2 separate regions of the Homo sapiens genome follow, and region 1 is linked to region 2. Evidence: promoter capture Hi-C in 16 types of primary human blood cells and fetal thymus (Javierre and others, 2016). All regions are on one chromosome and are shown on one strand. The core of a region is centred on a gene start or on the middle of the fragment in contact, and the rest is flanking DNA. Distances in the headings are between cores, read along the strand shown. Region 1 holds the start of ENTPD8 (ectonucleoside triphosphate diphosphohydrolase 8). Region 2 holds the start of LRRC26 (leucine rich repeat containing 26).

Region 1 (4,991 bases), core at 1-2,500, 270 kb before region 2:
TAGCCTGGGTGACAGAGCGAGACTCCATCTCAAAAAAAAAAAAAAAAAAGGACAACTTCCCAGACTCATTTTATAAGCCCAGCATTATCCCCATACAGAAACCAGGACTAAAAAAGAAAACTATGCAACTTTGTTGAACACAACTGCAAAAATCCTCAACAAACACATTTGACTCTTATGACCCATGGCAGCTAGTGTATAAAGTTGCTGCAAACACTGAATTAAAGAATATGCTAAACTATTGCTCCTAAGGGAAATGCAAAGTTCTGTTCCTGCAAGCTTCTGGTCACATTTTTGTTAAATGATCAATATATTAATAAAACCTTCTTTTATGTGTATTTTTGTTTAAGGGCACCTTACTTAATATGTATTGTATCACTAACATTGAACTCATGGCCAACAGCGCTAACTCTTGCACGAATGAAGCTTATCCAATGTGTGTTTTCTCTGTAAAGTGCATCTCAGCCTTCTTGCATTTCTGCACTATGCTGAGACGCCATTATAAACAGTGAAATCACCAAGAAAAAGCACAAAAATGCACACACATGACACCAAATATGCTACCAGTAAAGAGAGTCCCGATTGAGACCCCAAGAGGGTTCTTGGATCTCACACAGAAAGGAATTCACCGCCCCCCCGCATTCCCCCACCCTATTCCCCGCCCCCCAACACCCCCAGCCCCACCCAGCCCGGCCCTGGCTCCGCGCCTCCCCCAGCCCCGCCCCGCTTCAGAGGCCCGGACCCCGACGGCGGCGGCCCCGGGACCCACGGCGAGCGGGAAAGGCAGAGTGGCTGCAAATGGAAAACGACGGGCGCCGCGGGGCTGCAGGCGCTTCCGCCCCCGCCCCGGGCCTGGACCTTCGGGGTCACCTGACTCCGACCTGCCCGGGCCGGGCGGCACGGGGGGTAAAGTCCGGGCCGGGGTCAGGAGCGCGGCTGCGGGCCGTGGGGGGCGGGGTCCCGGAGTTCTGCCCCTCGCAGCTCCAGGCTCCTCCTCAGCTTCCCTCTCCTGCCTCCCACCCCCCCGGGGGCGGGGCGACCCTGGGCACCGAGACAGACCCGCGGGTGGGAGATGCGGGGAGACCCTGGGCGGGGGACCCGAGGGTGGAGTGGGCGGGGCGACCTTGGGCGCTGGCCTCAGCCTGCGGGCCCTGGAGCCAGGTGCACAGCGCATCGCCCGAGGCTGTCACCGCCCTGCCCCGCCCACCCCAGCTGTCCTGGACCCAGGGGCAGGGAGAGGCTGGACGCCAGGTGCGCGGACACAGAAGCGTCTAAGCACAGCTTCCTCCTTGCCGCTCCGGGAAGTGGGCAGCCAGCCCAGGTGAGGGTCCAAAGGGATGTCCTGGGGGGGCTGTCCTGGTCTGGGGGGCTGTCCTGGTCTGGGGGGCTGTCCTGGTCTGGGGGGCTGTCCTGGTCTGGGGGGGCTGTCCTGGTCTGGGGGGCTGTCCTGGTCTGGGGGGGCTGTCCTGGTCTGGGGGACTGTTCTGTCTGAGGGGGTGTCCTGGTCTGGGGGGGCTGTCCTGGTCTGGGGGGCTGTCCTGGTCTGGGGGGCTGTCCTGGTCTGGGGGGCTGTCCTGGTCTGGGGGGGCTGTCCTGGTCTGGGGGGCTGTCCTGGTCTGGGGGGGCTGTCCTGGTCTGGGGGACTGTTCTGTCTGAGGGGGTGTCCTGGTCTGGGGGGGCTGTCCTGGTCTGGGGGGCTGTCCTGGTCTGGGGGGCTGTCCTGGTCTGGGGGGGGCTGTCCTGGTCTGGGGGGCTGTCCTGGTCTGGGGGGGCTGTCCTGGTCTGGGGGGCTGTCCTGGTCTGGGGGGGCTGTCCTGGTCTGGGGGACTGTTCTGTCTGAGGGGGTGTCCTGGTCTGGGGGGGCTGTCCTGGTCTGGGGGGCTGTCCTGGTCTGGGGGGGCTGTCCTGGTCTGGGGGGGGCTGTCCTGGTCTGGGGGGCTGTCCTGGTCTGGGGGGGCTGTCCTGGTCTGGGGGGCTGTCCTGGTCTGGGGGGGCTGTCCTGGTCTGGGGGACTGTTCTGTCTGAGGGGGTGTCCTGGTCTGGGGGGCTCTCCTGGTCTGGGGGGGGCTGTCCTGGTCTGGGGGGCTGTCCTGGTCTGGGGGACTGTTCTGTCTGAGGGGGTGTCCTGGCCTGGGGGGCTCTCCTGGTCTGGGGGGGGGCTGTCCTGGTCTGGGGGGCTGTCCTGGTCTGGGGGGGGCTGTCCTGGTCTGGGGGCTGTCCTGGTCTGGGAATCTGTTCTGTGTGAGGGGGTGTCCTGGTCTGGGGGGCTCTCCTGGTCTGGGGGGGGCTGTCCTGGTCTGGCGGGGGCTGTCCTGGTCTGGGGGGCTGTCCTGGTCTGGGGGGCTGTCCTGATCTGGGAGTCTGTTCTGTGTGAGGGGGTGTCCTGGTCTGGGGGGGCTGTCCTGGTCTCAGGGACTGTTCTGTGTGAGGGGATGTCCTGGCCTGGGGGACTCTCCTGGTCTGGGGGGGCTGTCCTGGTCTGGGGGGGCTGTCCTGGTCTGGGGGGCTGTCCTGGTCTGGGGGGGCTGTCCTGGTCTGGGGGACTGTTCTGTCTGAGGGGGTGTCCTGGTCTGGGGGGCTCTCCTGGTCTGGGGGGGGCTGTCCTGGTCTGGGGGGCTGTCCTGGTCTGGGGGACTGTTCTGTCTGAGGGGGTGTCCTGGTCTGGGGGGCTCTCCTGGTCTGGGGGCACTGTCCTGGTCTCGGGGGGGCTGTTCTGGTCTGGGGGGCGCTTTCCTGGTCTGAGGAGCTGTTCTGATCTGGGAGGCTGTTCTGGTCTTGGGGGTCTTTTGAGTGTGGGAGAGGTTGCCCCAACCTCTTTGCCTACCTGGAGGCTCAGGCCTGGGGGTCTCAGGTGGCTACATCTTCTGGGTGTGGAGTCCCTGTGTTCCTGGCCCCTGTCACCTGTTTGTCCCTATGAGGTGGCCTATGGCCTGGGTGCTGGTTGGGGACACAGGCTGGGCCCTGTCTGGGCTGGACCGGCCTCCTGTCCTCTCTGAGCCTCTGTCATCTACCCTCCTTAAAATGGGCTTATATCCCCCGGACATACAGAATTGCGTGAGGACCCCACAGCGTGTCCCACTTTCCACGTGCCCAGGAGCCCCAGGTCAGGACCAGGGCAGCACCCGCGCCTGCCACTCAGTGTGGGTGCAACGTTTCCCGGGGGAACACGATAGGACACGGTCACATGGGGTTCAGGTGCCGGGACCTTGGCAGGCAGCCTCTGGCTTTGACCACTCCTTTGGCAGTGGTACCCGTGTGAAGTGGGGCTGTATGGGGCACAGGGTCGGCCTGGGGTAGTTTGAGAGCTGAGACCCTTGCTGGGCGTTTGGGCAGAGGAGGAGGTGGACACCTCGGCCACAGGGCTAGAGAAGCCCAGGCCCCTCAGATGGCATCCCTGGGTCCACCTCCCGACCAGGCGCCATCTGGCACCAGCTAAGAAGGTGCAGAGTCAGATTAGGGAAGCCTTGGGCTGGATTTCCAGAGAAACCGATGTTGTTAAGAAGCCTCACACTCGGCTTCCTAGGATGGCTGGCCTCACCCTGGGTTCACCCACAGCCCCTCGGCAACAGTCCCCTCAGGGCTCCAGAGAGAAACCCCCACCCTAGGAGTGCCTGGGGTGGGGGCCGCAGAGAGGAGGCAGAGCCCTGGGCCCCCAGTGCAGGCTGGAGCTGTGGCTGCTCCTGGGGAGGGTGGCACGGGAGAGGCAGGACCGAGGGGTGGGGACACAGGGTGGCCCCATCACATGGTGGGGGCAGCTCCGCGAGTCCCATCCGAGGGGGTCCGAGGGGGCTACTTGGATCCTGCTGGGGCTGTGTCCCCAGACGAGGCCTCTGCTGCCCCCCGCCCCCCTCCCACAGGGCCCTCTGATGCCCATGGCACCCCTGGCAGGCGTGGCTCCTGGGGAGTGGTCCTTGGCCACGGGAGGCGTCTGAGCCCCGGGGATGCCTCTATGGCCACGGGAGACCGTCTGAGCCCCGGGGATGCCTCTATGGCCACGGGAGGCCGTCTGAGCCCCGGGGATGCCTCTATGGCCACGGGAGGCCGTCTGAGCCCCGGAGATGCCTCTATGGCCACGGGAGGCCGCCTGAGCCCCGGAGATGCCTCTAAGGCCACGGGAGACCGTCTGAGCCCCGGGGATGCCTCTATGGCCACGGGAGGCGTCTGAGCCCCGGAGATGCCTCTAAGGCAAGTGGCTGTCCAGGGGTGCGTCTCCAGGGAGACGGGGAGCGAAGCCTCTGCCTCTGGAGGGCGGGATGGGGACACCAAGTGCAGCCTGGGTGCCCACGGCCGTCCCCCCACAGGAACCAGTACCACCTGCACCATGGGGCTGTCCCGGAAGGAGCAGGTCTTCTTGGCCCTGCTGGGGGCCTCGGGGGTCTCAGGCCTCACGGCACTCATTCTCCTCCTGGTGGAGGCCACCAGCGTGCTCCTGCCCACAGACATCAAGGTGCGTCCCCGCCGGCAGGGGAGGCCGGGCCGGGTCCACAGGTGTTGCCTCCCACTCATCCCACTGTCTCCCCAGTTTGGGATCGTGTTTGATGCGGGCTCCTCCCACACGTCCCTCTTCCTGTATCAGTGGCTGGCGAACAAGGAGAATGGCACGGGTGTGGTCAGCCAGGCCCTGGCCTGCCAGGTGGAAGGTTAGTGGGCTGTTCTGCAGCCCGGTGCTGGGACCTGCCTGTTGCTGCCTGGCTGGGATTCCCAGCTGCACGGAAAGGGTTTGGAGAGGTTCAGTGACTTGGCTGAGCTCACACGCCGGGCATGGGTGCTGGGCCGGAGCCTGCGTTCACGCGGTGGCACTCTGGGGACCTCCCTGCCTGATCCTGGTGAGCAGTCAGATTCTCATGGCCTGGCCTGGGTCTGCCCAGCATCTGCTGCCTCCAGCCCTGACCCTCTCTGGCCCCTGGTGCTCCCCACCCTGGCACCACGTGGTGCTGGCAGCCGAGGCTGGTAGTTACAGGGGTGCCTGCACTCCAGGATCCTGAGAGGGG
Region 2 (6,548 bases), core at 2,662-5,161:
CGCTCCTGCTGCAGCGCCTTCCCAGGCTGTGAGCTGCGCCTGGTTTCAGTGCTCCCACCGCTGTCCCCAGATGCCCTTGCTGGTTCCCACATGTCCACGGTCCTGGGCTCCTGCAGCCGCCGCCCAGCACCCTCCCACCTCTCCAGCTCTGGCCTGATGCCCTTGCTGGTCCCATGTCCATTGTCGTGGGTTCCTGCAGCTGCCGCCCAGCACCCTCCCACCTCTCCAGCTCTGGCCTGTTTGAGCCGTCCCGTTCAGTGGACATTCCTGCACCCTCCTTGCTCTGGAGAACTCTTGTTTGCCTCAGGGCTTGAAGGAGGAAGTGGCCGGGATTAGGCAGGCGCCAGATGCACAGCCTGTGCCCATCAGGCCTCTGCCCCGCCAAGGAGGGCTGCTTCCGCCTGTGCGGTATCTCCCCTCTAGCCCTGGGCCCTGCCACCTGCTCCACTTCACTCCAAGGCTGTCTGTGCTGCTGTCACAAAAAGAGGGACCCCTCTCCTGAATTCTGGTGGGATGGTCCCGATTGCTCTGATGCCCCCTCAGAGCAAGGTGGCCTTGCCTGGATCCCGCTGTCTGTGGCCACCACCTGGCCCCAGGCTGGGTGTGCCATTGTCCTAACCAGGATACAAACCTGCTGGGCTGGCCTGTCGAGTGTCACTGCCAGCCTGGCTCTGGTACACCTTTTGTTCTGTGTCCTGTGGATTCCATCTCTGGTTGTGTCCTGAAGACAAGGGCGAAGGGTGCATCTCGGGTCACGGTGTCACTCGGCAAGTCAGAGGTCGGAGGACCCCAGCAGGAGGGTGCCTGTCAACAGGCGAGGGGGTCCCTGGTGCCCAGGGCCACTGGGGCCAGACTGTGCCCACCCCCCCCACCCCCCGTGTCCCATGTGTCCTGAGCTGGCAGAAGGCCTGGCCTCCGTTGGCTGTGGGGCAGGTGTTTCCTTTTGCTGCCTGGCGGTTTGCTTGGCAGGTCCAGAGGAGGGGAGGCTGGGAGGGCAGGGGCCTCTCTCCCAGCCTGGAATAGCAGGTGCAGGGAGGAGGCTGAAAGCAACCCTGGCCATGCCGGCCTGCGGTCGACTTCCTTGGGCAACGCTTGTCTTTTCTGCAGAGGGGAAAGCTCCTGGGGGCTCCAACTTCAGTGACACCTTTAGTCTGGAGCCTTGGGGGATGTCTGGGAGGCAGGGCTTGGGGTCCTGCTCAGACAGGGGTGGCCAGTGTCCCCCAGACCTTTCCAAGTTGATGGGGGATTCCCTTGGGTGCCGGCAGCCCTTCTGACCTGAGCTTTGCCAGGGCGTGAGCCAGACCCTCCCAGAAGCAGTGGGGAGGGAGGATGGGTGCAAGCCCACCCCCTTAGCCCTCCTTGGCCCCTTCCTGCCCCAGCCCTGGAGGAAGGTGACCTACAGCCAGCTGGAGCCCAGCCCACATGCTGAGCTGCCGCAGCCCTTATGCTGGGAGGGAGCTGAGGCCGAGGCTGCCTGCCGCCCACCCTGCAAGGTTGCCAGGCCACCGCACCCACATCGGGGCCTGGAGTGCTGCCCACCCCCTTTCACTGTGAAGGATTTGGCTGGGCGCAGTGGCTCACACCTGTAATCCCAGCACTTTGAGAGGCCGAGGCGAGCGGATCACAAGGTCAGGAGATCGAGACCATCCTGGCTAACACGGTGAAACCACTGAAGGACTGCCCGTAAGACCAGGCCAGCCCCACTGCTGCCTCTGCCTCAGAGCTGGCCTGAGCTGGCTGGGCTCTCAGGCCTCTGCCCACCCTACCTGTCCCATTCCCAGAGCTGCTTGGCCATGGCTCCTTGAATTGCGGTGCCCAAGGGCAAATGACACACTGGCATTGTGAGCCCCCCCACCCCCACCTCACAGTCCTACTGTGAAGTCAGCACCTTCCAACAGTTCCGTCAGAGGTGTGCAGTGGGGCCAGGGCTGGACATGGCCCCCGGTCCCTGGCCTGTGTCCTGCCTGCGTGGTGGCCCCTTGGGCCTCACATATTTGTCCCTTCTGCTCATCCCTGCTGCAGGTGCCTCCTCCTGCCCCCGCACTCCACTCCCAGCCATGGCTCCCCTTCCCCAGGCAAGGTGGGAGCTCTGGTGTCCTTCTGGTGGCTACCAGGGCAGGGGCAGACTTGGGGGCCCTCTGCAGGCAGGTGACCGGCCCATGGCCATGTGGCCCTGTCTCTGCAGCTGGAACCTACTGTGAATGCAGCCTTGGCCTCAGCCGCGAGGCCCTCATCGCCCTCCTTGTGGTGCTGGCGGGCATCAGTGCCAGCTGCTTCTGTGCCCTCGTCATCGTGGCAATTGGTGTCTTGCGGGCCAAGGGGTGCGTGAACCCTGGGGCCGGGAGAGGATGGGAGTGAGGCCAGGCTGGCTGCCCTGGGCCCTTGGTCTTGCAAGAAGGGCTTTACCCCCTGGGTGGGCTGTCACCTGGGGTAGGAATGGCGTTTCCTAGGCGTGTGCTGGGGGAGCTCCGGGGGCCCAGCACTGTTCCAGGACTCATGTTGGCCTTCGTCCCCTCAGTGAAACATGCCCGAGACAAGTGGACAACAGGTGAGCACCAGGGAGGCCCTCGAGGGAGGCACGCTGTCTCAGGGGAGGCCCTTGGCGGGGGGAGCTATCCCAGGGGAGTCCCTGGAGGAGGAGGGGTGCTGTCCCTGGAGGAGGAGGGGTGCTGTCCCTGGAAGAGGAGGTGTGCTGTCCCAAGGGAGGCCCTTTGTGGGGGTGCACTGTCCCAGACGCCAGCCTGTCCTGGGGGAACAAGGACTCTACCAGCTCGTGATGACCCGGCCCGTCATGCAGGTTGGTGGAGAATTTTGGGGTCCAGGAAGATCTCATGGACCTGCACCCGGTTTACGTGGAGTCCCAGCTAATGGACGCTGACCTGGAGGTCTCCCTGGTGCCACCACTAGAGGATCAGAGCCTTGTGGCCATCCCCATGGAGGCTTCTTCAGAGGAGCCGCCACCACCCCCGCCCCTACCACCTGAGTAGAGGGCTGAGGGCAGCTGGGGGAGGGGAATTAAAGCGTATTTAGTGGCTGTGCACTGTCCTCCCTGCAGGCCCTCCTGAGGGCAGCTGGGGGAGGGGAATTAAAGCTTGTTTAGTGGTTGTGCACCGTCCTCCCTGCAGGCCCTCACACCCCTCACGGCTGCATCATGGGGGGTGCACGCGCATATGGGTCTCATCAAAGCAGAGTGCCCAGGCCCCACAGCAAGTTCCCCTGTTCCTCTGCCCCCTGGCAGTAAGCCATACCCCTAATGTTTCCACCTTCTCTGCCACAGCTGGTCAGCCCGGCTCCTTCCTGCACCCAGCTTTGGAAAGCCCCTAGAACAGGACCTGCAACTGGCAACTGTGAAGGGCGCTGGGTTTAACAGCAGGACTTGGGCTGATACCCCTGCCCCACTGCACTGGTCTGTACCTCTATCCCAGGAGAGTCCTGGGGGGGAGGGGTGGGGCAGGCACGCCTCTCCTGCCTCGGGTGTGCTGTCTCCCTCCACCCCAAGGCCTGTCTCCAACCCAGGCCCTATCCAGCATGGGAATGGGACCATCCCTGCGTGGGGGCCACTCCGCATGTGCACGTTGGGATCACTTTGCGGAGCCTGGGTGGGGTCGAGACGGGTGAGGAGCAGGACCTCTGGGTTGCATTGCGTGTGGGCGCCTGTTGCAGCCGTGAGCTGGGCGGGTGCAGGTGGGCGGTGTCCTGCTGCTCAGGTCAGGGCTCGGCGGGCGCCCGGTGGTGGACAAGGCGGGGTGAGGTGGTCTTGATAGCGCTGTGGCCGGCGCTGAGCCAAGAGTAGTTTGGAGCTCCCGGACAGGTGGCTGGCGGTGCCGGGCGTTGGCTGTTTGCCCTGCCCCCGCCCCAAGCGTGGATCCAGCCGTGGGACAGGAACTGCCTGAGCTCGGGCCAGAGAGTTAATATTTGTGCAGGCGCCGCAGGAACGGGCTCCGCGGACGACGGGCTCCAGGGACGCACAGGCAGCGGGCCTCCCACCGCGGGTGCCGGGGGCGGGGGGGCTGCCCCCATGCGGGGCCCTTCCTGGTCGCGGCCTCGGCCGCTGCTGCTGCTGTTGCTGCTGCTGTCGCCTTGGCCTGTCTGGGCCCAGGTGTCGGCCACGGCCTCGCCCTCGGGGTCCCTGGGCGCCCCGGACTGCCCCGAGGTGTGCACGTGCGTGCCGGGAGGCCTGGCCAGCTGCTCGGCACTCTCGCTGCCCGCCGTGCCCCCGGGCCTGAGCCTGCGCCTGCGCGCGCTGCTGCTGGACCACAACCGCGTCCGTGCGCTGCCGCCAGGTGCCTTCGCGGGAGCGGGCGCGCTACAGCGCCTGGACCTGCGCGAGAACGGGCTGCACTCGGTGCATGTGCGAGCCTTCTGGGGCCTGGGCGCGCTGCAGCTGCTGGACCTGAGCGCCAACCAGCTGGAAGCACTGGCACCAGGGACTTTCGCGCCGCTGCGCGCGCTGCGCAACCTCTCATTGGCCGGCAACCGGCTGGCGCGCCTGGAGCCCGCGGCGCTAGGCGCGCTCCCGCTGCTGCGCTCACTCAGCCTGCAGGACAACGAGCTGGCGGCACTCGCGCCGGGGCTGCTGGGCCGCCTGCCCGCTCTAGACGCGCTGCACCTGCGCGGCAACCCTTGGGGCTGCGGGTGCGCGCTGCGCCCGCTCTGCGCCTGGCTGCGCCGGCACCCGCTGCCCGCGTCAGGTGAGCTGCTGGGGACGCGGGTCGGGGTCTGCAGGGCGGTGCGGCAGCCGCCACCTGACGCCGCGCCTTTGTCTGTGTCCCACAGAGGCCGAGACGGTGCTCTGCGTGTGGCCGGGACGCCTGACGCTCAGCCCCCTGACTGCCTTTTCCGACGCCGCCTTTAGCCATTGCGCGCAGCCGCTCGCCCTGCGGGACCTGGCCGTGGTTTACACGCTCGGGCCGGCCTCCTTCCTCGTCAGCCTGGCTTCCTGCCTGGCGCTGGGCTCTGGGCTCACCGCCTGCCGTGCGCGCCGCCGCCGCCTCCGCACCGCCGCCCTCCGCCCGCCGAGACCGCCAGACCCGAACCCCGATCCCGACCCCCACGGCTGTGCCTCGCCCGCGGACCCGGGGAGCCCCGCCGCTGCCGCCCAAGCCTGAGCGGCCGCGGCCGCCTGGAGCGCTCGAAGCTTCCCCCATGCCTTTGCCCTCCCTTTACACTGTCTGCCGGCGTCAACAAGCGACACAGACCGAAAACTGCGTGACATTCCTTTAGGCATCACCACTGCATACACCGGGAGGTGGGGGTTGGGCGGTGCGCGCCTGCACCCTGGGGACGGAGGGGCAGAGCGCGGCTGCGCACGGGCCGCACGGGGAAGGCACGCGCTCGGGCCCTGGGAGTGCTGGTTCTGTACAAGGTGGCGGGCCGGTCACGCACCCGGAGCGAGGGCGGGGGCGGGCGGGTGGCGCTCTCCCGTGCCCAAGGTGCAGGGCAGGGTTGAAGACAGTCCCGAGCCAGCGTCCGGGGACCCCCGGGGAGGCCCGTTCTGGGCTGCAGGCCGGACGAGGAGAGGAGGGGCTCAGCCCTCTCGAGTCTGGAGGAGGCGGCCCGAGGCGGCGGGAGGCGCTGCCAGCTGGGAAGTCAGGGACGGCCGTGGGGGAGGGCAGGGCCAGCCCCGGCGTGTGGGGTCAAGGGGCAGACGGGGTGTGGGTGGGCGGTGCCGCAAGAAGAGGGGAGGGTGGAGCTCAGGCTGCAGAGGAGCGCAGGCGCCCGAGGAGGGGCGACCCAGCCAGCTGGGGCCATGGGCCCCACTGTGGCTCAGGCTGGTGCTGCGGGAAGGATGGGGCTGCCGTCTCTGCTCCAAGCCCCTCCGCCTGGGGCCAGTTAGCCCCCGCTCCCCACTGCTCAGAGACCCCAGGGCCCTGCCTCTGCCGGAGCGCCCTGCGGCCCTGCCCAGCCGACTCAGCTCTGCCCCGTCCTCAGCCGCTCCGGTCCGCACCTTGGTCCAGCAGGGGCTGCCCGCCAGGCAGCGGGGTGGGCGGGCGGACGGACGGGAGGCCCAGGGTGGGCAGTCTCTGGGGCGGGTGGGCTTCCCTCAGGCCTTCCCGAGCAGCAGGACCCATCAGTGTCCTTGGCCGGGCTAACTGGGCAGGTGGGCGCCTCCGGGGGCCTCACACCACGGTGCTGACCGAGGGATCTGAGAGGTTGAGCGGGCCCGTGATATCAGTGGGATGGTACTGCTGCAAAATAGAAATACACAGACAAGGCGCCCGTTAGCCCCACGCTGGGGGCACGCGCGGGGCCGGGACGGGGTGGACCGGCCAGCCGGCCAACCGGCGGGCGGGCAGGCGCAGCCTGGGGGAGGCTGGGGGTGCTCCTCCCCCGACCCCGTGGTGCTCCGGGGCTCTGCGTGGGCCGGGCCGCTGTCCCGTCCGTCTGTCTGTCTGTCTGCGGGGGAGGGGGCAGAGGAGGGCGGGCGGGGAGTCTCAGCTCTCCCTATGACGGGAACACAGCTGCAGCTGGCCCTCCTCCCTCTCAATAGCGCGTCGCGGCAGCACTGTGTCTTTTTGGTTTTGCAAAGCGCCGCGTCCACCCCCGGT

What was found. Contacts are between HindIII fragments. The CHiCAGO score rates a contact against its expected background, and 5 or more counts as called.
Region 1: a contact is called between the fragment with the promoter of ENTPD8 here and the fragment with the promoter of LRRC26 in region 2, in 5 of 17 cell types (endothelial precursors, non-activated CD4 T cells, naive B cells and 2 more). The highest score is 7.1, in endothelial precursors.

Annotation. Positions count from the first base shown.
Region 1 is chr9:137,437,616-137,442,606 of GRCh38, reverse strand. ENTPD8 (ectonucleoside triphosphate diphosphohydrolase 8) reads left to right here and starts at 1,250. Exons shown (of 10, transcript NM_001033113.2): 1 at 1,250-1,321; 2 at 4,302-4,447; 3 at 4,523-4,640. The coding sequence starts at 4,322. RefSeq lists a silencer at 1,096-1,390. The HindIII fragment of the contact is 13,084 bases long and covers 429-4,991 here.
Region 2 is chr9:137,167,414-137,173,961 of GRCh38, reverse strand. LRRC26 (leucine rich repeat containing 26) reads left to right here and starts at 3,911. Exons shown (of 2, transcript NM_001013653.3): 1 at 3,911-4,691; 2 at 4,777-5,204. The coding sequence starts at 4,019. The coding sequence ends at 5,108. TMEM210 (transmembrane protein 210) reads left to right here and starts at 1,906. Exons shown (of 4, transcript NM_001282477.2): 1 at 1,906-2,022; 2 at 2,186-2,321; 3 at 2,519-2,548; 4 at 2,798-3,104. The coding sequence starts at 1,935. The coding sequence ends at 2,987. It overlaps MIR3621 (microRNA 3621), which reads left to right and starts at 4,692; the gene lies at 4,692-4,776. GRIN1 (glutamate ionotropic receptor NMDA type subunit 1) reads right to left here. Exons shown (of 20, transcript NM_007327.4): 20 at 5,206-6,548. The coding sequence ends at 6,435. It also overlaps LOC124902315. RefSeq lists silencers at 4,199-4,258, 4,419-4,938, 5,179-5,288, 5,519-5,638 and an enhancer at 5,408-6,272. The HindIII fragment of the contact is 2,046 bases long and covers 3,094-5,139 here.